Linked DNA regions of Homo sapiens: regions 1, 2, 3, 4 and 5 are each linked to region 6. Evidence: promoter capture Hi-C in 16 types of primary human blood cells and fetal thymus (Javierre and others, 2016). All regions are on one chromosome and are shown on one strand. Each heading gives the region's core, a stretch centred on a gene start or on the middle of the fragment in contact. The rest is flanking DNA. Distances are from core to core; before and after follow the strand shown. Region 1 has its middle 24 kb from the start of FGF1. Region 2 has its middle 7.3 kb from the start of FGF1. Region 3 overlaps FGF1 (fibroblast growth factor 1). Region 4 has its middle 140 kb from the start of FGF1. Region 5 overlaps FGF1 (fibroblast growth factor 1). Region 6 holds the start of GNPDA1 (glucosamine-6-phosphate deaminase 1).

The links. Contacts are between HindIII fragments. The CHiCAGO score rates a contact against its expected background, and 5 or more counts as called.
Region 1: a fragment that was not itself captured here is called in contact with the fragment with the promoter of GNPDA1 in region 6 in 6 of 17 cell types (naive CD8 T cells, naive CD4 T cells, total CD8 T cells and 3 more); the score reaches 7.3 in naive CD8 T cells.
Region 2: a fragment that was not itself captured here is called in contact with the fragment with the promoter of GNPDA1 in region 6 in 4 of 17 cell types (naive CD4 T cells, naive B cells, total CD8 T cells and 1 more); the score reaches 6.3 in naive CD4 T cells.
Region 3: a fragment that was not itself captured here is called in contact with the fragment with the promoter of GNPDA1 in region 6 in 1 of 17 cell types (endothelial precursors); the score reaches 5.1 in endothelial precursors.
Region 4: a fragment that was not itself captured here is called in contact with the fragment with the promoter of GNPDA1 in region 6 in 4 of 17 cell types (endothelial precursors, M2 macrophages, activated CD4 T cells and 1 more); the score reaches 9.7 in endothelial precursors.
Region 5: a fragment that was not itself captured here is called in contact with the fragment with the promoter of GNPDA1 in region 6 in 1 of 17 cell types (endothelial precursors); the score reaches 5.8 in endothelial precursors.

What each region holds. Positions count from the first base shown.
Region 1 is chr5:142,708,220-142,712,633 of GRCh38, forward strand. No RefSeq gene overlaps it. Among named protein-coding and RNA genes, the nearest start is that of FGF1, 24 kb to the left of the region's middle. The HindIII fragment of the contact is 1,740 bases long and covers 1,757-3,496 here.
Region 2 is chr5:142,691,405-142,695,387 of GRCh38, forward strand. It overlaps a transcript of FGF1 not described here. Among named protein-coding and RNA genes, the nearest start is that of FGF1, 7.3 kb to the left of the region's middle. The HindIII fragment of the contact is 823 bases long and covers 961-1,783 here.
Region 3 is chr5:142,611,854-142,616,220 of GRCh38, forward strand. FGF1 (fibroblast growth factor 1) reads right to left here. Exons shown (of 4, transcript NM_000800.5): 2 at 2,106-2,308. The coding sequence starts at 2,274. Among named protein-coding and RNA genes, the nearest start is that of FGF1, 72 kb to the right of the region's middle. The HindIII fragment of the contact is 2,233 bases long and covers 638-2,870 here.
Region 4 is chr5:142,541,876-142,545,751 of GRCh38, forward strand. No RefSeq gene overlaps it. Among named protein-coding and RNA genes, the nearest start is that of FGF1, 140 kb to the right of the region's middle. The HindIII fragment of the contact is 2,151 bases long and covers 270-2,420 here.
Region 5 is chr5:142,594,782-142,598,802 of GRCh38, forward strand. FGF1 (fibroblast growth factor 1) reads right to left here. Exons shown (of 4, transcript NM_000800.5): 4 at 1-703. The coding sequence ends at 509. Among named protein-coding and RNA genes, the nearest start is that of FGF1, 89 kb to the right of the region's middle. The HindIII fragment of the contact is 5,090 bases long and covers 58-4,021 here.
Region 6 is chr5:142,010,813-142,014,625 of GRCh38, forward strand. GNPDA1 (glucosamine-6-phosphate deaminase 1) reads right to left here and starts at 2,215. Exons shown (of 7, transcript NM_005471.5): 1 at 2,183-2,215; 2 at 1,100-1,229. The coding sequence starts at 1,223. RefSeq lists silencers at 1,340-1,399, 2,071-2,340 and a cis regulatory region at 3,482-3,754. The HindIII fragment of the contact is 4,254 bases long and covers 1,305-3,813 here.

The DNA of each region.
Region 1 (4,414 bases), core at 1,377-3,876, 700 kb after region 6:
CATAAACCATTTCCACAACATAAAGTGCAAGGTGAAGCAGCAAGCGCTCATGTAGAAGCTGCAGCAAGTTATCCAGAAAATCTAGCTAAGATTATGGATGGTGGTGGCTACACTAAACAATAGAATTTCAATGTAGACAAAACATCTATCAGAATAAGATGCCATCTAAGACTTTCATAGCTAAAGAGGAGAAAGCAATGCCTGGCTTCAACGCTTCAAGGGACAGGCTGACTGTCTTATTAGGGGCTAATGCAACTGGTGGCTTTAAGCTGAAGCCAATTGCTCATTTTCCATACAGAAAATCTTTGGACCCTTACAAATTATGCTAAACCCAGGCCAGACACAGTGGCTCATGCCTGTAATTCTAGCACTTTGGGAGGTCGAGGCAGGCAGATCACTTGAGCTCAGGAGTTCGAGACTGGCCTGGGCAACAGGGTGAAACCCCATCTCTACAAAAAAATACAAAAACTAGCCAGGTGTGGTGAAGTGTGCCTGCAGTCCCAGCTACTCAGGAGGGTGAGGCAGGAGAATTTCTTGAGCCTGGAGGCTGAGGTTGCCGTGAGTCAAGATCACGCCATTGCACTCCAGCCTGGGTGACAGGAGTGAAACCCTGTCTCAAAACAAAGAATTGTGCTAAATCTATTCTGCCTGTGCTCTATAAATGAAATAACAAAGCCTGAATGACAGCACATCTGTTTATGGCATGTTTACTGAATATTTTAAGCCTACCGTTGAGACTTACTCCTCCAGGGAAAAAAAGGGATTCCTTTCAAAATATTACTTCTTGTTGGCAAATGCATCTAGTAACTCAAAAGCTCTGACAGAGATGTACAAGGAGAGTAATATTTTCATGCTTTTAACACAACATCCATTCTGCAGTCCATGGATCAAGAAGTCATTTCAACTTTCAAGTCCTATTACTTAAGAAATGCATTTTTTAAGGCTATAGTTGTCATAGATAGTGATTTCTCTGATGGATCTGGGCAAAATCAATTGAAAACCCTCTGCAAAGAATTTACCATTTTAGATGCCCTTAAGTACATTCACGATTCATGGGAGGAGGTCAGAATATCAACATTAGCAGGAGTTTGGAAGAAGTTGATTCTAACCCTCACGGATGACTTAGAGGAGTTCAAGACTTCACTAGAGGAAGTCACTGCGGAGGTGCTGGAAACAGAAAACTAGAATTAGAAGTGGAGCCTGAAAATGTGCCTGAATTGCTTCAATCTTGTAACGGTTAATACTGAGTGTTCACTTGATTGGATTGAAGGATGCAAAGTATTGTTCCTGGGTGTGTCTGTGTGAGCTTCCCTAGTTTTGAGGTTTTGGGACTTGGACTGGTTTCCTTGCTCCTCAGGTTGCAGATGGCCTATTGTGGCACTTCGCCTTGTGATCATGTGAGTCAGTACTCCTTAATAAACTCCCGTTCATTTATACATCTATCCTATAAGTTCTGCCTCTCTAGAGAACCCTAATACAAATTTCATGATAAAACTTGAACGAAAGAGGAGCTGCTTCTTATGGATGAGCAAAGAAAGTGATTTCTTGAGATGGACTCTACTCCTAGTAGAGATGCTGTGAACATTGTTGAAATGACAATAAAGGATTTAGAATATTCCGTAAACTTAGTTAATACAGAAGCAGCAGCATTTGAGAGGACTGACTCCACTTTTGAAAGAAGTTCTACTGTTATTAAATGCTACCAAATATGGTACAGAGAAATATTTTGTGAAAGGAAGAGTCCATTGACATGGCAAGCTTCATTACTGTCATATTTTAATAACTTGCCACAGCTACCTCAAACTTCAGCAACCACCAGTCTGATCAGTCAGTAACCATCAATATCGAGGCAAGACCTTCCACCAGGAAAAAGATTATAACTCACTGAAGGCTCAGACGATCATTACTATTTTTTTAGCAGCAAAGTATTTTTAATTGAGGTATGTACATTTTTAGACATAATGCTCTTGCACACTTACTAGACTACAGCATACTGTCAACATAACTTTTATAGGCACTGGGAACCAAAAATTTGTATGATTCACTTTGTTGCAATACTTGCCTTACTGCGGCAGTCTGGAACCAAACCCACAATATCTCCAAGGTCCACCTGCAAATGCAGGCAGTGGGCCAGGTATACATGCATACATATGCCTTATGTGAGGGGTGGGCACTGAGGTTAACTAGAAAGCATGAGCCTATTTTTGCCTTGTGGTAATAAGGGCCTCATATTGCCAAATTTTTCCATTTTTTTCAAAAGAAGTAGGAAAGGAAATGCAGGCTTTTAAAATGTGAAATCCCAATTTTCAATTGTTGGTTCAAAAAAAACTTAAATCTCAACTAGCCAAATAAAATGCATCTGGGGTCCACACCCAGCTACCCTATAGGATACTAATTTAAAATATCTGGACTATAGTCTATATTGATGAGAGAAGTGGGGTGAAACTTGGCATTCCCTTGCCATTAACTTCTAGCCTCCCAGTAGTCCAGGCTGCCTTGAATAAACACCAGACCATCATACAAAACAGAGTTTTTATCTTATTTATTTATTTATGAGTTGGGTGTCTTGCTGCATTACTCAGGATGGAGTGCAGTGGCACAATCATAGTTCACTGAGGCCACGAACTGCTGTGCTCAAGTGATCCTCTCACCTCAGCCTCCTGAGTAGCTGGGACTACAGGTGTATGCCACCACATAAGGCTAATTTTAATTTGTTTTTGAGAGACAGAGTCTTGCTATGTTGCCCAGGCTGGTCTTAAACTCCTGGCCTCAAGCAATCTTTCCACCTTGGCCTCTGAAAGTACTAGGATTATAGAAGTGAGCCGCTATGCTTGACCAAAACACAGTTTTTAAATCAATTTATGTCTTTACTGAAATCTCTTAAAGATGCCAAAGGGTGGGGTTTGGGTTCCATTCATAACACCAACATTTCTGAAGAATCCTCTTCTCTTGTCTCTTTCTCAAGTCCTCCTCATGACATCTGTGTTAGTCCGTTCTCACACTGCTATGAAGGACTGCCTGAGACTGGGTAATTTATAAAAGAAAGAGGTTTTAATTGACTCACAGTTCCACAGGGGTGGGAAGGCCTCAGGCGGAAGGGGAAGCAACCACATCCTTCTTCACATAGCGGCAGGAAGGAGAAGTGCCAAGCAAAGGGGAAAAGCCTTTCATAAACCCATCAGGTCTCATGAGAACTCAAGAAGAGCATGGGGATATGTGGAGGAAAAGTTAAATCTTAAATTTGAACTCAATTGAATGTGGACACAAACAATGGTCACCAAGTCCCAGAACAGGTTGCATGAGCCCCTTGAGGCGTTCATCCAGACGGTTTTGGAGAAATCTGTTCCTGTATGTTAGTTATTGAAAAACAACAAACAATCATAAAAACAAGTTGACCTTTTTGTGTTCCTTGAGTCCAGTCATGAAGGGCCCTCGTGACTGGGCCTCATGCCAAATAAGTCGTTACAAAAAGAACTAGGGTCCCATACCACGCCAAAGCTTCATGAGACCTCTCCTCATCTGTGCATGGATGAGCGGTCAACTCTGGAGCCCAGGCTGTTGCTTCCCTGTCTGGTGATGAATCCTCTATAGTCTGGTAAGTGTAGTGGCCGACTCTGGAGCCCAGGCTGTTGCTTCTGGTCTGGTGATGAATCCTCCATCGTCTGGTGAGTGTGTGTGTATATATATATAGTCTATATTGATGGGAGAAGTGGGGTGAAAGTTGGCATGCCCTTGCCATTAACTTCTAGCCTCCCAGTAGTCCAGGCTATATATATATATCTTCTCCCTTTTCCCCTTCCCATTGCAATTTGCTTGTATCATTTGCTTATTATATCTGCATTGCCATTTACATGGGATAAAGGTTGTTTACCCTTGAAGGTATTGCATGTGTGTCTTTTCTTTTCCCTTTGTGCATCTCCCTCATAGAAAAGAGTAACCGCCCCCATGATTCAATTGCCTACCACTGGGTCCCTCCCACAACACGTGGGGATTATAGGAACTACAATTCAAGATGAGATTTGGGTGGGGACACAGCCAAACCATATCAACAGCCCAGCAGCTACTTCAGTCCTCCTTAATTTATCTCTTGAATTCTCCCAAACCCAGCTCATCCCTGGCTTGTTTCTCTTATTCTTTCTCTCGCCTTCTGATCCATTCTGCTTTCGTTAGTATGTAACTCCCTGCCTTCTCTTAGGTAGACCCATCAACCCATCCTACCCATGGTACTGCACAATTCAGAATCCTTTCCCAAATTTTCCCTTATTATGCACAAGAAATACTCCAGGGCCAGGTGCAATGGCTCACGCCTGTAATCCCAGAACTTTGGAAGGCTGAGGCAGGAGGATCGCTTGAGCCCAAGAGTTCAAGGCTGTAGTTAGTGATGTTGGTGCCACTGCACTCCAGCCTAGGCAAC
Region 2 (3,983 bases), core at 122-2,621, 680 kb after region 6:
GAGTGAGACTCTGTCTCAAATAAAATAAAATAAAATAAAATAAAATAAAATAAAATAAAATAAAATAAAATAAAATAAATAAAATATTTACTTACTTGTTCTGTCTCCCCTACCACATACACTGGAATACAAATTCCACAAGGAGAGCAGGACTTTGTCTTCTCACTGTTATATACTCAGTACCGAGACCAGTGGTTCTCAAGCTCGAGTGTGCACTGGAATCACCTGGAGGATTTGTTAAAACACAGATTGCTGGGCTCCAACCTCAGAGTTTCTAATTCAGTAGATCTGGGGTGGGCCTACTGAAATAGAGTTTATATTTCTAATAAGTTTCTAACTGCTGCTACTGCTCCTGGTCCAGGGACTGCATTTTGAGAGCTACCAGTCTTGACGATGCCTGGCATATAGTGGGTGTTGCATATACATTTATTACATGAATGCATGAGCCTGCACATAGGATCTGCCACCTTCTTTGTAATGGCAGTTTTGTTTTCAGTTTATCATTTATTTATATTTATGGGACTATAGGCTGTGAACCTTGCCTCCTCAAAGTCTTTGTGACAGGAAGGCCCCAAGTTTTGTCAGCTAAAATTGTGCACTATCTCCATTGATTTGTCAATTGATGATTAAAAACCTAAAGTTTAGGCCAGGTGCAGTAGCTCATGCCTGTAATCCCAGCACTTTGAGAGGCTGAAGCAGGCAGATTGCTTGAGTCCAGGAGTTCAAGACCAGCCTGGGCAACATGATGAAACCCCTTCTCTACCAAAAAAAACCCCACAAAAATTAGCTGGGTGTGGTGGCATGTGCCTGTGGTCACAGCTACTTGGGAGGCTGAGGTGAGAGGATTGCTTGAGCCCAGAAGGCGCAGGTTGCAGTGAGCTGAGATCACGCCACTGCACTCCAGCCTGGATGACAGAGAAAGACCCTGTCTCAAAAAGAATAGCAGCAACAACAAACTAAAGCTTTATAGACCCAAGAGGAACCATTGAGAGACTTCTCATTCTTTGCCTCAGCAGAACATCAAACCAAAAGATGGTGCAACTCTCACTTGACATGTGACAGAGAACAGAGTGATCTCTCAGGCCTCCCCTGTAATGATTTAACAACTATCCTGTTGGTTTAGATTGGGTCTTGGTATATTGGAGTGTATGCAACATAACCCCAAGCAGGTTATGAAATATAGAAAGCCTACTGGTTTTCCTGAGTCACAAAACCTCTTGAAAATCTTGACAAGATCTATAGCTCTATTCCCCAGGACACACACACACACACGCACACACGCACACACACACACACACGCACAGACACACACACACACACAGTTTTACATTTAATTTCAGGAAGTTACAAGATGCCCCAGGCACACTTTAACCCCAAATTAAGAACTTCTGGTTTAATAATTGTCTAGCTATTTGGCAAAAACAAACAAACAAACAAACAAACAAACAAACAAACCCAATCTGGATCCCCAGTTTCTTATTTAAATTCCTGATGAATCCGAGGTTTAAGTGTAAAGAGACAAGCCTTAGAGGAAAACATTAGTTAATAAGATTTATAATCTTAGAATGGGAAACACTTTTGGAAGCATGATTTAAAACCCAGAAGTGAAAATAAAGTAGTGAGACTGATTCTAAAAAATCTAAAATGTCTGTCCAGGAAAGAGGAAAAAAACTCTCCTGGTTTAGACTCTAAGGAGAAATTAATTGATCCTATCTTTTCCATCTATCTTCTTCTCAGTGGAATTGTGTGAGTGACCTATGGCCAGGCTCTATGGGACAAGACAAGCTTCTCAGAGCTTACAGGGTGAGATCACATCCTTTGGCAAAGCCCTGTCGCGGGGTTAATTATTTCAATAGCAGTGGTTTGGGTTTTTTAAATTATTTATTTTTATTTTTTTATTTTTTGAGACAGAGTCTCACTCTGTCGCCCAGGCTGGAGTGCAGTGGAGTGATCTTGGCTCACTGCAACCTCCACCTCCCAGGATTCAAGCTATTCTCCTGCCTCAGCCTCCCGAGTAGCTGGGATTACAGGCGTGCGCCACCACACCCGGCTAATTTTTGTATTTTTAGTAGAGACAGGGTTTCACCATATTGGCCAGGCTGGTTTGGGTTTTTAAATGACTTTATTGAGATATACTTCACATACTCTGAAGTTCACCCATTTAAAATGTACAATTAAGTGGTTTTGGTATATTTACAAAGTTGTGCGGCCATCACAACTATAATTTTAGAATATTTTTGTCACCCCCCAAAGAAACCCCATATCCATTAGCAGTTCATTCCCCATTCCTCCCTCCTGCCAGGCCTAAGCAACCACTCATCTACTTTCTGTCTCTATAGATTTTCCTGTTCTGGCCGTTTCATATAAATGGAATCAAACAACATGAGCATTTTTCCTTTAGTGTGATGTCCTCAAGGTTCTTCTGTATTGGAGAACATATCAACATTTCTTTCCTTTTTATTGCTGAATAATATTTCATTGCATGGATACACCACATTTTATTTCTCTGTTCATCAGCTGATGAACATTTGGGGTGTTTCTTCTGTTTGGCTATTATTATACTGTTGTTATTCATGGGCAAGTTTTTGTGTGAACATGTGTTCATTTCTCTTGGGTCTAGCAGTGTTTTTTTTTTCTCTTAAAGATTTACCCGAAGAATTTATCTATATCTCTATCTATCTATAATCTATCTATCTATCTATCTATCTATCTATCTATCTATCTATCTATCTATGTCTATCTGCCTCTCTGTATATATGTATTCCCCCCCACCCTGCCCACCATCATAACCTCATGGAGAACCAAGCAGATTTGGGTTCTAAAGACCTCAGATCTCTTACATTCCTGGCCTGGGACCTTCTGTGCAAAGGTCACGACTCACTCTCACTATGCCTCAGTTGTGCTATCAATGGAAGGAAGGTGAGAACACCAGCTCTTTCACACTGCCACAGGATATTGTAAAGATAAAGAAAATGACGTAAATCAATAGGATCTGCTCTTTCCAAGATATGAAGCCATATGAATAGGCCAGTGTGCATCAAAGAAACAAGATACACTTGAACCAAAAGTTTTGCCAGCACAAAGATGACTGCATCAGCCGAGTCCAGTGGCTTGATGTGGGGGCACAGATGGTACAAGAAATCACCATCTCAAGATTTTGGTGTTCTTTGAGATCAGAATTTGGTTGCCTTCCAAATCCTGCCAAACACCCTGAGGGAGGACCCCAGCTTGGTCACCCTGGTGGCGGGTAGGAGAAAGGGCAGGGCCATAATGTACTGACCGGCAGCCCAAGGGGCAAGCTTAAATTCTAAAGCCTACCCTCTAGCCAACATTTCCCGCAAAGACCACCCTACCCCCGTTTAATTAAAAAGCACCCTACTCTCTGCAGAGTCCCAGAGACACCTCTTTTTGTGAAATCCCTGACATTCCTGTAGGCTCTGGGGCAGGGGAGTGACCCCTCACCCCTGGGTAGAATCTAATAAGAACTTCCCAGTAGAGGTACTGGGCACCCAGGTGGCAGAAGAGGGGTCTAAAATACATGTACTTCTTCCTGCTCTCTGACCCATCACCTGTGCCCTTTGCTCTTTAAACTCAGGCAGCAGGAAATTCTACTGATAGGTGTGTAAATGATTAGTGGAATAGGAAATGAGAAGGTGGCATCCTGGGTTATAGTCTGCACATCACCACTTACTAGATGTATAATTTAGGATAAGTAACTCATTTCTTTGAGACTTGGTTTACCCATCTGCTAAATGGGATAATAGCAGTACTTGCCTCGTAGGGTCATTGTGAGGATTACCTGAGATGATGCCTGTAGGGACTCCAGCATACCATCTGTGTTTGCTATAGTTATTATATTACTTCTAAAGTCAGAATTAAAGACCTCAAGGCTGGGCGCAGTGGCTTATGCCTGTAATCCCAGCACTTTGGGAAGCCGAGGTGGGGGTGGATCACCTGAGGTCAGGAGGTCAGTTCGAGACCAG
Region 3 (4,367 bases), core at 504-3,003, 600 kb after region 6:
TTCAATACGACCCTGTGTTACCATATGCTAGGCTGATTATATGGAAAGCTTGATGATGATAACTGCAATATGAACCAACACGTGCTGTGCTGTTCCTCTGTGCCAGCCACTGTGCCAAGAACTCTCACTATATTATCTCATTTAACCCTCCCAAGAAACCTGTGAGGCAAGGAATATTAGTATTCTTTTTGTACAAATGAGAAAAGTGAGGGTGAAAGGTGCAGTTGCCCAAGTTCACTTGGAAAATAATCTGGCATTCCTTGAATGCAGAAATCCTCACCTGCACTCCCAGGGCTACGTTGTGCTGCTTTCTAGGGGCTCCTGACATCTTAAGTCAGGCGGCCAAATCCACTGTGGACTCCAGAAGTTGTGCCAGTGTTACACACCCAGAGTGCAGTCTGTTGTGCTAATGATGGAATGGCAACAGTTAAGCCATTTTCCATTGCTACAGAAATTCCAGTATTGGAGCCTTTTTTTACTCCAGAAGTCAAGGTTTCCAGAAGAGCTAGCTTAACCCCAAGGAACATATCATGAAGTTTGTCTTTCCTCTTGGGTTCTGAGGACCGGAGAGCATTCCCTACTTTTTCAGAAAATTGGTTAAGACGTATTAGGAACACTTAAAACCCAGAGGAATTAAAGCTTGTTCGTGTTGTGTGGGGCAGATCACGTGAGTTGTGTATCATGCCTGACACAATGGACTACAATCTAAGTTTGCTAATTTGCAGTGAATATTGCTTATGTATGCTATTTAACAAACTAGAGTCTTTTTTTTTTGCCTCATTCTGACACCTGTTTTTCACTGAGTATAAGACATTCAGCAAGCCCATTTGAAGATAAGCCATCAAAACAAAGCCCAAAAGAGCTAATTCTGCAGCTGCAAGCCCCAGCCTCAGCCTTCCTGCTCCTCATCTCCAGGGTCTGTGCAGTGGGTGGGGAGGAAGGAACAACGTCACCTCGTGTAAACGCCAGCATCCATCCCCATTACCTGTGCATCTGAGGGTACAGCGTGAGCACCAGCGAAGTGGTCATTTGTTCTTAGAGCCTGCAACCTCTGGTGCATGGTCCATGAATAATTAAGACCACCTGATGTATAAACCATCATGTCAAAGTGAGTGTTTTGCATTGCATTTTGAAGCCAGTCCTACAGAAACTTCCTTCCTGCCTGTCTTCTTCTATGTCTCCTGATTTTCCTTCTCTTGATTTGTGGCAAGTTTGACTCTTGAGATTGCTGACCCTCTAAGCAGGGACTGGATCTGACTTTAGGCTTCTTTGTAACCTCTGATGCTGCAGTGGGACTCAGGGAATCTCAGATAACATCACGATAGGACCTGGACACCTAATATCAAACATACACACCAATGCCAGAAGTACCAAAGCAGAAGGAAGAGATTTTTTTATACTTAGATAGTCAAGAAGATTCTTTTCTCTAGAGTCATACCTTCATTTGTCAACACCTCTGAGAACCGGGCTGCCAGGAAGTCCTGGAAGAGATATTCAGCATTTGGCGCTAGTCGCTCCTACTCTCCAGTTTCTATAAGGTCTGGAGAATGACTTTACCACTGCTGGTTACCACAGCCACATCTGCGTGATACGCAGAGGGAAAGCTGCATAATTTATGATGTGTAAGACTACGATTATGAACTGGGATTTCACAAATCAAGCCCAGTGGAAACATAACCAGGAGAGTCAGTTGACTTGAAACGGAGCCCACATCTCTGTGCAGGATTTACCACCATGCCTGTCTGGTTCATCCCATCATGAAGCGTGCAGGCCCCTGACTAGCCTTCGGGGCCAGATCTTTCACTAGTTACAGAAACCTGGGAAAACATACAGCAATTGAGCACCGGCAGCCCGTTCTGTTGGGTCAGCAGAGAGTGCTTTAAAAAACTTGAAATAGGACACGTTTGGGTAAGTGGTGGCCCCCACAAGTCCCTATTTTCTAAACCCAGACATTTTACGCATTTATGTGACTCCACCTCTGAATGTGTCATGCCTGAATAGAACCTTGGAGAAGCAAGTACCTGTACTTAAATGTGCACCTTCCTCCCACCTTGACTACAGAAGATGTCAGAAAGGGAAGGGGGGTGCCATAGAGATGGGCTTACTGTGCTGGTCGCTCCTGTCCCTTGTCCCATCCACTGTGCCATCCGGAAGGATCCTCAGGAAGTGGCCCCCGTTGCTACAGTAGAGGAGTTTGGGCTTCTTGTAATTCCCTGGAGGCAGATTAAACTTCTCGGTCAGGGCTGTGAAGGTGGTGATTTCCCCTTCAGCCATGGCTCAGCAGCTGCTGCTTGTGGCGCTTTCAAGACTGTAAGAAATTGAACAAACCTGTAGTCGGTTCTTCCAGCAAAGGCACAAAATGCACTTTGAAGAGAGGAAGGACAGCTCCAGGGCACAGGGTTCCCGGGTAGTGAGTAAGCACAGCCTGCCCAGGTGATGCCCGCAGTCCGCGGGCCTGTGAGGTGGCTGGTGGTTAAGGAAGGATGGTCCCAGGCCTGGGAGGGGTTTCCAGGGCATTTTTCTCTCTTCCCAATTGGACACAGCTTTGGACCAAACTGCATTTTTTAGAACTTCAAATTTAATCATCTGACCATGGGGAAAAGAATCATGTTTTGGTCCCTCCTTCTGGTCCACACACATCCTCAAATTAAACACCAAAGTTGCACTAAAATAACACCTAGGGTCTGGCTGAAACCCACAAAAGCTGAGAGGCCAGGACCAAGGTTCTGCCCTCCACCCTCACGTTGCGTTGGTGAGGTACCGCGAAGCAGATAGCACAGATGGCCTGGACGTTCGGGACCTGCAGCCAAAGGCACAGGAGGCCTTTCAGGGACACAACAGGGAAAGTAAAGGGTTAGTATGTTAAGGGAAGCTTCTGGATTTGCTGGGGGAAACAGAACTGGAACCAGGGAAAAAGGCACAGAGTGGGAGTAAGTGGGGTTTTTAAAGGGCAAATACCATATCAAAGGAAATGTTATGAGACAGATCATTATGAAGGCTATGCCTGGTTCCTGCCCATTCTGCAGCTTTCCACATAGCTTCATGTGGCACAGAGAAGGTGGGTCTGTCCCTTGCACGCAGGCTGTTTTCATCCTAGCTATTTTCTAATGTGAGATAGAACACAGAAACCACCATATTATATATAATATACCTTTAACATTATATGTAGCCACTACATACAAACTTATATTATTAATGTGAAAATGCATCACTTACACCTCAAAGGATTAAAAAACAAAACCAATGAGCATTAGAATTGGTTAAAACATATACTTGCCCCACCATTTAGGAGAAGGAAGTGCTGGTGACTCTAAAAACTGAAAAGAAAGAGGCCAAAAAGAGACCAGGAAACTAACGTGTGAACTGCACTTTTTTTTTTTTCTCCTGAGACGGAGTCTCTGTAGCCCAGGATGGAGTGCAGTAGCACGATCTCAGCTCACTGCAACCTTGGCCTCCCGGGTCCCAGTTCAAGCAATTCTCCTGCCTTAGCCTCCCAAGTAGCTGAGATTACAGGAATGCGCCACCACACCAGGCTAATTTTTATATTTTTAGTAGAGATGGGGTTTCACCATGTTGGCCAGGCTGGTCTTGAACTCATGACCTCGTGATCCGCCTGCCTCGGCCTCCCAAAGTGCTGGGATTACAGGCGTAAGCCACCGCGCCCGGCCTGGGAGCTGTACTTTGTAAGTGTGAGTAGTGAATGTGATCATCAATACATATTGATTATCAAGTGGTCTTAGAATAAAAATCATCACCCTCATCATTAACGTATTTTGGGCTACAGGTTATCTCAAGTAATCTCACCATAATCCCTTGAAGTGGACACTAATATTATCATCATTTTTAATAAAACCAAAGCTTACAGATGTTCAGTGACCTGCCCAAGGGCAACAGCTAGTAAGCGATGGAGCTGAATCGCAAAAGGAGTCTGGGAACAGAAAGCCCCAATTTGCCCTTGATCACCATGAAAAGGTTTAGTGACTTTATCCACACTAGTCTTTTTATGAGGAGTGGGGTTTTTACCCATTGCCTGACATGTACATCTGCCACCATTAACTTGTCATTCATATATTTATTTGTGACCCAAAGGTTGGCTAGTCTCCACCAACAGCCTCTCCTTTTGCCCCCATGCCATCTGTGAAACAGGACTCCATGCATCTCCACCTTCTCCAGGAGAAGCCCACCCCAGCAGCTTCGTGAGCATCATGGAAGACCAGCAGCTACCCTGCCTTCCCTGCACTAACCATCCATCAGTGCCTGTAGCAGCTGTGCGGAGCTGCTCTCATAGGAGATGGTTCCATCATAAATCAAGACACCAATTACAATAATTTGTCCTTATGACTTTAAAATGAGGGCTCATGTTGGAA
Region 4 (3,876 bases), core at 95-2,594, 530 kb after region 6:
AATTTTTTTGTATTTTAGTAGAGATGGGATTTCGCCATGTTGGCCAGGCTGGTCTTGAACTCCTGACCTCAAGTGATTCAACTGCCTCGGCCTCCCAAAGTGCTGGGATTATAGGCGTGAGCCACTGGGCCCAGACTTAGACAGCAAAATATAAATATATTTTCCAACAAATGAAAGAACCCCACCCCCCAAATTTAGTGGATTAAATGCCTATAATAGCTAACCGATTGTATCAACTCCATCAGTTCTTAAGTTTAGTATTCGTTAAAAGCTTTATTTCATTTGGAAACAATCTGTATGTTAGATTTTCTCATTTCTGAGGAATTGTTTCAACATCACCTCCTTGGAGCCCAATAATTTTAAAAGCAAAATTTTTGAATCCTTCCATAGTTATGCTGCATGCTGTGGAATGAAGAGGCTGCGGCTCACCAAGGCTCACAAAGACCTTACCACGATCCCGGGTGTTCAGAAGAGGTGTGTGTTTCTTCCTTCCTCCCTCTCGTCACAGTTGCTGTCCCCCAAGGAAGAGGAAATGACTTGCTTGTGGAATCCGTTTGCAAGCAAATCACTTATTTGGAACCAAAAATGGGGGAGAAGGAAGTAGGAGCCATAGACTCAGGGCTTGATCAGGATTCCGCAAGCCTTAGAGTTTTCCACTCCCCACAACATACCTCTCACCTGGGCCATTTAGAGGCATCTCCTGCCTCCCACTCTGTCTCTGCCTGAGGTCTACACTCCGCGCCCCCCCACCACCCCCCAGCCCGACCCCCACTTTAACAGGATTCAACTCCTTTGTCTGACTGTGACCACAGGTGATGAGAGCTGGGAGGGCGAGTTGGTTGGCCTTTCTTGCAGCTCCCACATTCTAAATCAGGAAGCATGCAGGAGTGGAGAATGAACAGCAAGAATATACACAGCCTGGAACTTCCAGTCTGAAATGTCTAGGGCATTTAGTATGAAAAATCTGTTCATAACTGAAAAAAGAAAACACCTAATGCAGGAACCAGAATTTTCTGCAACAAGCAACATTACCAAAAAAAGACCAGCCAAGAGGGCTTGCCAGAATTGGCTATAGAGCGTTATACCAGGTAAACTCGTCAGATGGAACCATGTCTTTCCTTTGGGAGAACACTGACATTTAGGCTTTGGCTTCTTGAGATTCTGCTGGAGGACTTTTCAGAGGAATGCAATGACTCCTTCCTTCCTCCCTGAACTGAAATCCGGGCTATTACAATTCCAAATGGACACAGAGTCCTGCCAAGTTTATAGGAAATTGGAATGACAGCTTGGGTTCCCACCACTAGGGATAGCAGAAGCTGAATGCTCAGAGAATAAGTAACATTTCCCTGGTGATTCCCAGTGTGTCTATTTTTATTTTAAGGAGTTCTGTGTTTTCATTCAGTTTTGTGAATGGAGGAATCCATATGGAATTTTCACCAACTCTACTAAAATAAAAGCATGTAACTTTTCAGCAGTGTACTGAAATATCCACAAAGATTCAAGGTTAGGTTGGAAAGAATTCCAGACATTCACTTTTGAAGACCTGTGAAAAATCTGCTAACTTCTAATGGGTACCTTCTGGGCATATGACAAAGGACAATATCAGTTGCTAAATCCATCCATGTACAAGAGATATTGTCTTCAACAAAGCACAGCTCATCATTTAATAGAAGTTACAAAGTAGTTACTCTAAGATAAGCAGCTTGTTTTAATAAATATCAAGTATGAATATTTATATATTTTATTGAAAGTGCAGGATTTTGGGGGTGGAATGGGAAAAAGAGACTGATAAGTCCCATGCATAAAACAGGTATATTTTTACTGGTAATTTCCAGTAAGTTTTCTTGAACATGTATATTATTCACGACTATTTGAAATTATCTTGTTTGTTCATTTGTTTGTTTACTGATGGTGTGATTCCCAGCTTCTTCAGTGTCCACCTCCACCTCTTTATTTCCTCTCTAACATAAGCTGCACAAAACAGGGAGCTTATCTATCTTGACTCTCTACCTCCAGACCTAGAAGAGTGCCCGAAACATGGTTCTAAGTAAATGATTTTCTCCCCTCTTCATCCAACCGACAAAAATTTCCTCCTCCTCTTTCCTTATTTTTTTAAAAGGTTAGTAATGAAAAAAGACATTATACATATTCATACAGGTGACTGGGATTTTTGTTACAGTTGTTACTGTTTGTCTTGTCTTATGGTACACGTTAATTGGACAATGTGCCCACATTATTCATGTAAAAAATATGTGTCTTCTCTGTACCCAGCACTGTTCTCAGAAGGAAAAATCCTGTATCCATGGAACTTACATTCCAGTGGAGAGAGACAGACAGTAAAACATAAATATATATTTTGTCAAGTGGGGATAAGTGCTATGAAGAAAAGTAAAGCTGGATTTTAAAGGGGTGGTCAGGGAAGCTTTCTGATAAGGGGCCATCCTTATCAGAAATGAGAGCTTAGGAAGCTAAGCTTGCTGATAGCTGGCGGAAATGCTGCCTGGGTAGCATCATGTGCACAGCTTAAAGCCGGACACATGCTTACCTCCTTTGTGGAGTAGCAGGGAGGCTGGAGCAGAGTTAGCCACAGGAGCGGGTGTAGGAGGTGCCATGGGAGAGCTGCGGCAAGTCACAGAGGGCTTGGGGGCCTGGGCAGACTGTGGCTTCTACTCTGTATGACATGGGGAGGCCCCTCGAGGGTCTAGAACCAATGGGCACCATGACGTGGCTTAGGTTCTAAAAGGCTTCCTCTGGCTGCTGTGTGGCAAAAAGAATGGGATGGGTGGCTTGGCAAGAGGGGAGGAACGAGACCAAGTAGGAGGCTTTGTAGTAATCCAGGTGAGAGGGATGGCAACCCAGACTAGTGGAAGTGATGAGAGATGGTCAGATTTTGAATATGCTTTGAAGGCAGGGCCAGTGAGATTTGCTGATGATTTGAAAGTGGGACATGAGAGTGGGAGCCAGGGATAGTTTTGAGGCTGTCAAGCTGAGCACTTTGCAGAATGATTTCCTGGCCATTTAGCGAGATGGAAAAGCAGGCTTGAGGAGAACTCAAGGGTTGACTTTGGGTATAGGTTTTAGAAGCTTTGTTGAGCCTGTAGGGAGAGGCCAAGTAGGCAGTCTCACGTAGGAGGGTGAAGTCCTAGCTTGAGACCTTCACTGGCATGGTGACCACTGAGCCCTGACAAGCCAAGGGCCCAAGAGGATGGGGCCAAACATGGGGCCAGTGTCAGCTGACACGGATGCCAAACCTGCATGATCACAGTCCTCAAGTCTGGAACAATTCTCCTACATAGTTACCAGGGAAATCTACCAGGGTTGAAATTCCACCCCTCTGAGTAATTCAGGGGCCTTATTTAGTCTGTTGTCTTCATGCTAATGTTCTTTTCCTTTATCTCTATACCCTTATGCTATTTATTGATCAAAGAACCATAAAGTTACTTGTTTTTAACAAGACAGAATACCACAGCATGGAGGTTTCACTTTAGGATTTAAACATTTTGGCTTTTTACTGCTAACTAATGGGCCTGCAGGCTAGGAAACATAAAAGGACCCTCATTTGTATTCCTAGTGAATAACCATCCTGTGTCTGGGAAAGCCTGGCAGTAAATGACAGGTAAGGCTGGGGCAGGGAAGCTTCAGGTCCCTTCTTTGCAGAGGCCTAATGGACCACCAGTCCCTAGACTGATTGATGTCAGGCAAGAACGTCCAGGGAGTCTGCCACTGTCTGCTCCAAAACAGGATTTAGTCCTTCCTAACCTTGGGAATTTCTGAAGCCCCAATTCCTTTATGACTGTTTACTATCCTTAGTCCCCTGGGATCTAGTATAATCAGCTGGTGGATTCCTTTTTCCTTAAACCTAAGTCTGAAGCCCCA
Region 5 (4,021 bases), core at 1,353-3,852, 580 kb after region 6:
GGGATTTCTTTGTCCCTGTTTCTGGTCATGGAATGCTGCCTTCCTAACCTGGCATGAAGCTTCTTTGCTAATATTTGCAGGGCACAGGAAGGACAAAAGGGAGCCATGCCAGATGTTTGGGGGAATCACAGATAGGGTTTACTCAGTAGAGGGAAATAGTGTGCAGTTACTAATGTCCCACTTAGCCGACCCCTTAACACACTTCATTTAGCCCCACTTTTGCATGGAGGGACTCAGCCTGCAAGAGGCAATTGGAGATCCAAACCCAGACCCAGACTGGCCAGCCAGTTGACTCCTAGAAGCAATTTGGTCCCTCTGTTCTAAACTGTGCAGGGGTAAAAGGCTCTGCAAAGAAGTGAACTGGGCATTTAGAAGCAAGTTGCTTACAAATTCAGGCTCTGTGGGCTGGGGGTTAGCGCAGCCAATGGTCAAGGGAACATTTTTGGGTCAACCAGGTGAGGACCCCTCGAAACTTCTCTGGAGTGGTCAACACCCAGAACAGATCTCTTTAATCAGAAGAGACTGGCAGGGGGAGAAACAAGATTGCTTTCTGGCCATAGTGAGTCCGAGGACCGCGTTTGCAGCTCCCATTCTTCTTGAGGCCAACAAACCAATTCTTCTCTGCATGCTTCTTGGATATATAGGTGTTGTAATGGTTCTCCTCCAGCCTTTCCAGGAACAAACATTCCTCATTTGGTGTCTGCTAAAAAGATAAAACCAAAAGAGAGTAGGACAATCAGTGAGTAGTTTCACATGGGGGTCCCCATTTACTAGCTGTGTGACATTGGGCAAAATACTAAAGCTCTCCATGCCTCAGTCTCCTTTTCAGGAAAATTGGGGTCATGGTGGAACTTATTTCACAGGGTAGTCATAAGGACTTAGAACAGCACCGGGCACTAAAGAGCTGTCAATATGCATTTGCTATTATTGTAAACTTCCTTTCCATTTAAAATCCATTGTAAAGTAATTAAGATGCTACTGATAAGAGCACTTCTAAGAGTCCTCAGGACTCTAGAATCTCCCACTGGGGACATTCTGCTCGACTGTAAGTACCTTGAGGGCAGGGCTGGATCTTTCATCTCTGTAGTGGCCTGGCACACAGGCCTGACCATGGAAAAACATTCCAAATAGGTAAAAACCAGACTGTGATGTAGTGGGTTGTTGTTGTTGCTGTTGTTTTAACTTGAAGGCTAGACTTAAAGAATAAACAAAAAGCTGCTAAAATGCCTTTTATCCTGGTGATTTTCACTAACGTCAGGATTTTACCTGAGTATTGTTATGAAGATATGCTTGTGCAAAATTTATCCTAAGCATGAAACATATCCTAGAATGTAGATTTTTTAAAATGAAAATAGCTTTATTTTTTGCTACTTATAAAAAGAATCTTATAAATAGATGCTACTTGTGGTCAGGCACAGTGGCTCATGCCTGTAATCACAACACTTTGGGAGGCTGAGGCAGGAGGATTGCTTGAGCCCAGGAGTTTGAGGCCAGTCTGGGCAACATAGCAAGACCCATTCTCTACAATTTTTTTTTTAATTAGCTAGGTGCCATGGTGTGTGCCTGTAATCACAACACTTTGGGAGGCTGAGGCAGGAGGATTGCTTGAGCCCAGGAATTTGAGGCCAGTCTGGGCAACATAGCAAGACCCATTCTCTACAATTTTTTTTTTTTTAATTAGCTAGGTGCCATGGTGTGTGCCTGTAATTACAACACTTTGGGAGGCTGAGGCAGGAGGATTGCTTGAGCCCAGGAATTTGAGGCCAGTCTGGGCAACATAGCAAGACCCATTCTCTACAATTTTTTTTTTTTAATTAGCTAGGTGCCATGGTGTGTGCCTGTCCTCCTAGCTACTTAGGAGGCTGAGGTAGGAGGATTGCTCGACCCCAGGAGTTTGAGGCTGTAGTGAGCTATGATTGTACCACTGCACTCTAGTCTGGGTGACAGAGCAAGAACCTGTCTCTAAAGAGTAATAAAAATGCTACTTATAAGAAGAATTGTACTTTTAAAAATATACCTTTACTTTGTAAAAAGAAAAAACTATCCCAAAACCCACCACCCAGATATAGGCAACTGTTAATCACTGATAAACATCCTGCCTTACATCTCTTTATGTACATACAGACTAGATAAGGCTATATGGATATAGACTTATGATATCATCAAAATGTCATGTTTTATTTGATGTTTTAAAAATGAACAACAAACCTATGAAAACATTCAATACTGCTAACGAGAAAAATGCAAATTAAAAATTATTTATCATATGTTAGCTATCCTATGTGCAAAGATAAAAAAAAATTTGTGCAAAGATAAAAAACCATTTGCAAGACTTAGAATGTGGGAACTAGGCACTGCCATGCACAGTTGGCGAGAAAAATTAGTGGAAACTTTCTGAAGACAATTTAGCAATATGTATCAAAATTTACAAGATGTATTACCTTTGACTCAGCAATTTCACTTCTAGGAATCTACCCCTAGGAGATGGTTGAGTAAGTGTACAACTGTATTTTTGAGGATGGTCTCTGAACCAATGGTTATAGGGGCAAGCGATTAGGAGTAACCTATATGTCCATGGAAAGGTGATTGGTTAAGTGGGTAAAAGAATATCCGTACAGTAGAACCCAGTGCAGCTGTACATTTATTAAGTTGAAAATCAGCCACAACGTATTAAAGAGTGCAGTTACTTGAAAAAAATCCAGCAACCACTATTTTGCTTACTTGTAGTCAATCTGTTGGTGGAAGGGGAACTCAGTTTTTGAACTTTCTATTCGTCAAGATCTTAGAATATATTTATTACATTTGGGTCTAAAACAGGTATATTAAAACACTTATGCTGGAACTGAGACATCTGACTTTGCTTTGCCTTTTTCAAGTCGTGTGACCCCTGCAGTCTCTCTTCACCCACAGTGGTTGGTGATTCCCTGTCTGGCGGTTTCCAATTATATTGTTCATTGTTCTCTATGTGTGAGCATGTTTGTTTCTTTAGATTATAAACCCTAGTGAGGAAGGAGATGGAATCTTGTTGGTCTTCTCTCCATCCCCCAGACACAGAGCCTTGCAAATAATAGGTGCTCACCAGCTAAGTAATGCATTTAATTTGATTCTTGAGATAATATAAAGCAGTCAGTAAAGTCAGCCTTTCTTAGTAAGGAACTGTGTAACAGGAAGTATCCTGCTTCTTATTCATTCATAATCTAGTGAAATGACAACAGGGTGAGACACTTTAGATCATATTGGAACAAGATGAGATATAAATATAATATTTTATTGGATGACTCTGCTGCCTCTAGAGGAACTTGGTGCAGACATTCGTGTTTGATGCATGTTGTTGGGGGTAGAAGGAGGTAGACAGCTTGGACCTATGTGGGTTGCCCACTCCCTTGTAGGGAGGACTCATGCCTGACACCTCATAGTGGGCATCAGGCCTGTGTTCTGTGACGAAGGTGAGGATGGCCACATTCCCCACCTGATGTCTCTATTATACTGGAGGAGTTGACACACACAAAATAGCTGAGTCACAGGCTGAGTCAGCAGGCCAGATCAGCGGTGCTCCGTCCCTCCACCAGGATTTGTTAGCACTCATTATGCACTTGGTACAATGCTGAAGACATGTGGCTTAACTATTGATTCATGTCTATTGTTTAAATTGTCTTCTTTTTTATATTTGGCATGTTTCCCCTCCCACCCTAAATTACATAGGTGACATATACTTACTGTAAAAAAAAAATTGGAAAATACAGGAAGTTATTCACATATTATAAAATCACCCATTCTCCACCCCCAGAGATAACTATATCAGTATTTTGATATATAGCCTTTCAAACTTAAAAAAAATATACATATCCTTTCCACACACACAAGTTTGAATCAGGATGGATTAGTGCCTAAATTTTATGAAGAGCATGAAGCAGAGCTTTGAGATATCTTAGAACTTCTCTTTATCAATGGGGAAAATGCAAACATTCTTAGGCGTAATATACTAAGATCATATTTCAGGTGAATTGTAGTGATGGCCACG
Region 6 (3,813 bases), core at 965-3,464:
CTGGTTTTTACATTTTTAAATAGTTTTTTTTTTAATTAAAGAAGAATAATATTTTGTGACATGTGAAAATTATATAAGTTCAAACTTCAGTGTCCATACAGTTTTATTGGCATACAACCATACTCATTCACTTATATATTGTCTTTTCTTTTTTTGAGACAGGGTCTCACTGTCACCCAGACTGGAGTACAGTGACACAATCATGGCTCACTGCAGCCTCAATCTACTGGCTCAAGCAATCCACCTACCTCAGCCTCCCAAGAAGCTGGGACTACAGGTGAGCGCCACCATGCCAGGCTAATTATAGCTGCTTTCAAACAACAGAAGGGTTAAGTTGTTGCAACAGAGACTATATGGCTAGTGAAGTCTAACATATTTACTACTGGCCATTTACAGAAAAAGTCTGGACTGCAAGGAAGACCAAAAAAAAAAAAAAAAAGGAAAAAGAACAAGTTTGAAGACCCCTCCAACACACACACACACACATAGACACGCTAATGGATGGGTCAGGTAGGGCCACTAGGGCAAACCCATCCATCTCTGAAAGAAATAATCAGGACATTTGTCTTGAGGAGCTGGGGTCAAAATATCTTTCTGAAAAAGCAACATTTTGATTTTTTCCAAAAGAAATTAGAACTGTTTTTTATTTAGGTCCTGTGTTTAATTAAGCCTTACAGAAAATTACCTAAGTGACTATCTTTTCAATTCTCCCAAGGATGGTACTTAGCTGGTACCCCTCTAGATGCAGAGAAGAGAAATTAATTCATTACATAAAATGAATGCCTTAGGGTATCAGGACTTAATTCTGTTAAGAAACCCTGGTGGACAGGGCTGACTTAGGATGTAGCCTAAAAATCAAATTCTTCCTGCCAACCAAGATCCCTTCTGCTCCAGGATTCTGCAGGGACAGGCAGCGACTAAACCAACCCATAAGGGAAGCTGGGTCCTTTGTATGTGGAAGGGGCAGGAAGGTGCTCTCTCAGCACCAGTACCCCAGAGCCCCCGTGAAGTCCCTTGGCTGAGTGAGCCGGTGTACCTGGCCCCTGTTGCCTACTCTCTCCACCCTTATCCACGGCACCCTCTCCATCCAAGAACGCACCAGTGGGGAGCCCCAGGGTGAAGTACTTCTCTGGCCCTGGGTTAAACTGGATGATGCGGTTCCTGATGTATTTAGCCGCCCACTCGCTCGCCTGAGAATAGTGCTCCAGGATGATGAGCTTCATCTTGTCCTGCAGTGGGGGAGAGGGGATGACAGAAAGGAATCAATGGTAAGGGGCAGAGAAAGAGATGGAGGTGGTGGGAGAAGCTTCTCTTACCCAGCAACAATCCCCTTCCCAAGCTGTCTGAGCCAGGAAAAAGGCCTTTCTATTCACAGAGGAGCTAAGAGGCTAGGCCAGTCGTCTCCACCACCCACAGACCACGAGGAGGCGCCACTGGGGGCAGATCTGGGTTCTAATCTCAGCTCCTTCACTTACCACCTGCAGGACCTCGGTCAAAGGACCTAAGTTCTCTCTGAGCCGTTTCCTCCTATGTAAAAATTGGGACAATAGTACCTACTTCACAGACTTCACGACGGGTAATATGAAATGAGAGAATGCATGTAAACAACTTAGTATTTTCTACGTTGGCTGTTACCATCCAGATAGATGCTCGGCTCAGCCCCGCCTCCCTCATCCCTGCCCCTACCGGAACGGGATACCCTACCCCCTCCCCGCCGTCTACCCCAAGACTCTTCCTCCAGAAGTAGAGAGGTCATGGGATCATGCTGGGCCACTAGAGCAGGTGGGGCAATGAGCTCTGCCTGGGGAGCTGTGTGCTCTCTCTGGACTAGCGGAGGGGTCTTCCTACTGGCCCACCTTGCTTTGCGAACCCCTCTGGGTCTTCAGTTTCCCCCAAAGCACAAAAGGGAAAAGGTAATCGCTCCAGAAGGAGGACATTTTGTTCCCCCAGCACTGCGGTTAGTGGGAGTGTGAAGGAAAGAGGCGAAGGTGGCCCGCGCGGTCGTCGGTGGGGTACAGCGTGTCCCCCACCCCCATTACCACCCCATCGCCCCTCCGATCCCTCCTGGAAAATGTGTGAGGGCGGCTCCCCGGGGTCCCGACCCCGAGTGCCGTAGGGCTGGGGCAGCGCTCCGCGCTCCGGCCCGCGAGGAAGGTCCCCGCCAGCCCTGCTACCCACTTACACGGACGCCTCCCGCGGCGGCTGCAGCGACTGCGCCGGCGGCCCGGCCCCGCGCGGGTCACGTGGCTGCGGGTCACGCGGCGCCGCGTGCGCCGCCCGCCGGGCTGACTCAGCTTGGCCGCAGCTACCCGGACCGACTCTCCCAGGTGGAGGAGTTCCGGCCACTCAGTCCCACCTCGGTCCCTGGCCCCGGCAGGCCCTGGAACAGACCTTAAAAAACACTTTCCCTTGGGAGGCGGGGATTCGAGTCTGGTTTGTGTGTGTGTGTGTGCAAGAGGAGGGAGACTTGAGGGGCGCCGGGTCGCCCCCAGGAATACAACCCCCTGGACCTTGGGGCTGGGGCCGGGGGGTTTTAGTGCAGGGGTTGAGCTGGGGGCAGGCAAAGCAGAATCGCTTCCTCAGTCTCCTAGGGTTGGGCCTGGCTCTGCCTTCAGTTTCTTTCTTTGTTTAGATGCCATTTATTTACCCAAGTATTAAAACTTGTGTTGTTTAAAGTACAATTGGGCTTTTTAATGTCCTTTTTTAAAGATCAAACTTTGCAGCATTATATAATAGAGAAAAAGGCAGGCCCCTGGTTTCCCCAACTCCCCACACCAAGATAACCATTGCTTAGTTTAAGAGTACATTCTGAATTGCTTTCTTTGAATATGCTTACACTGTTATTTTACATAAATGGGAACACATACACATGAGGCTTATATATATCAAGGCTCGGATATTTGACCTGCATTATTTCACTTAATCCTTATTAAGCTCCAGTGAGGTAGGTTTGCCGTTACTTTTTAACAGGTGGAGAAACTGACGCTTGGAGAGAAAAATTAACTTGGCCAGAGGCACAAGTGGTTTCCCTTGTGCCTTCAATTCAGGGGGATCTGTCCAAATCCAAAATCCATGCTTTTTACCGCTAGCGGGCACTGCCTCCCAGCTGGTATGACTGGATTTGGGACGCTTCCATATCAGAAAAAGAGATCCATCTTATTCTTTCCAGTCAACATTAGAGTGTTCCAGACTTCTAGGGACACTTGGGAACTTTCCATGCGGAGGCTGGAGGAAGGACTTGAGTGCTGGTCATCAGTAACATCTTCCATTACATAGGGTTTTGCCAGAGCTTTGTGCGCATTATTTCATAGAATCCCGCCCAATCGTCAGATATGATTACCGCCATTTTATTGATGTGGAAACTGGGGATCAAAGGCGTACAGAGACTTGTGATATATGACCTCATAGTCTGACATCCCGGACTTTAGTCAGTGCTAGGGAGCAGTGGTGAGACCTTCTGAATCAGCCTAGTTTTCCTCCAGCAGCAAAAGGCCAAAGGAATCCTGGCTTTATGCCCACGGGACAGGGCCTTCCTCAGTCAGCCGGGTGGCCACGTTCTGCAATTCTGCTGAATCTGCTCACTGTGGACAGCCCCAGGCGCTCACCCAGCCCTTGGGCCCAACTGCAGCTCCAGACCAGCTTGCTAGGGGTAGGCTTCATCTGGTGAGGCCCTGATGAGACCAGATGGTGGAGCTGATACCTTTACAGTGTGGGGGACTTGCTCTTTGCCTCAGTGTTATTTTGTTTTGTTTTGTTTTGTTTTCCAAATCCTGAGAGGCTGTGAATGGCTCGGTGTTGGTGTAGTTTTTGTTT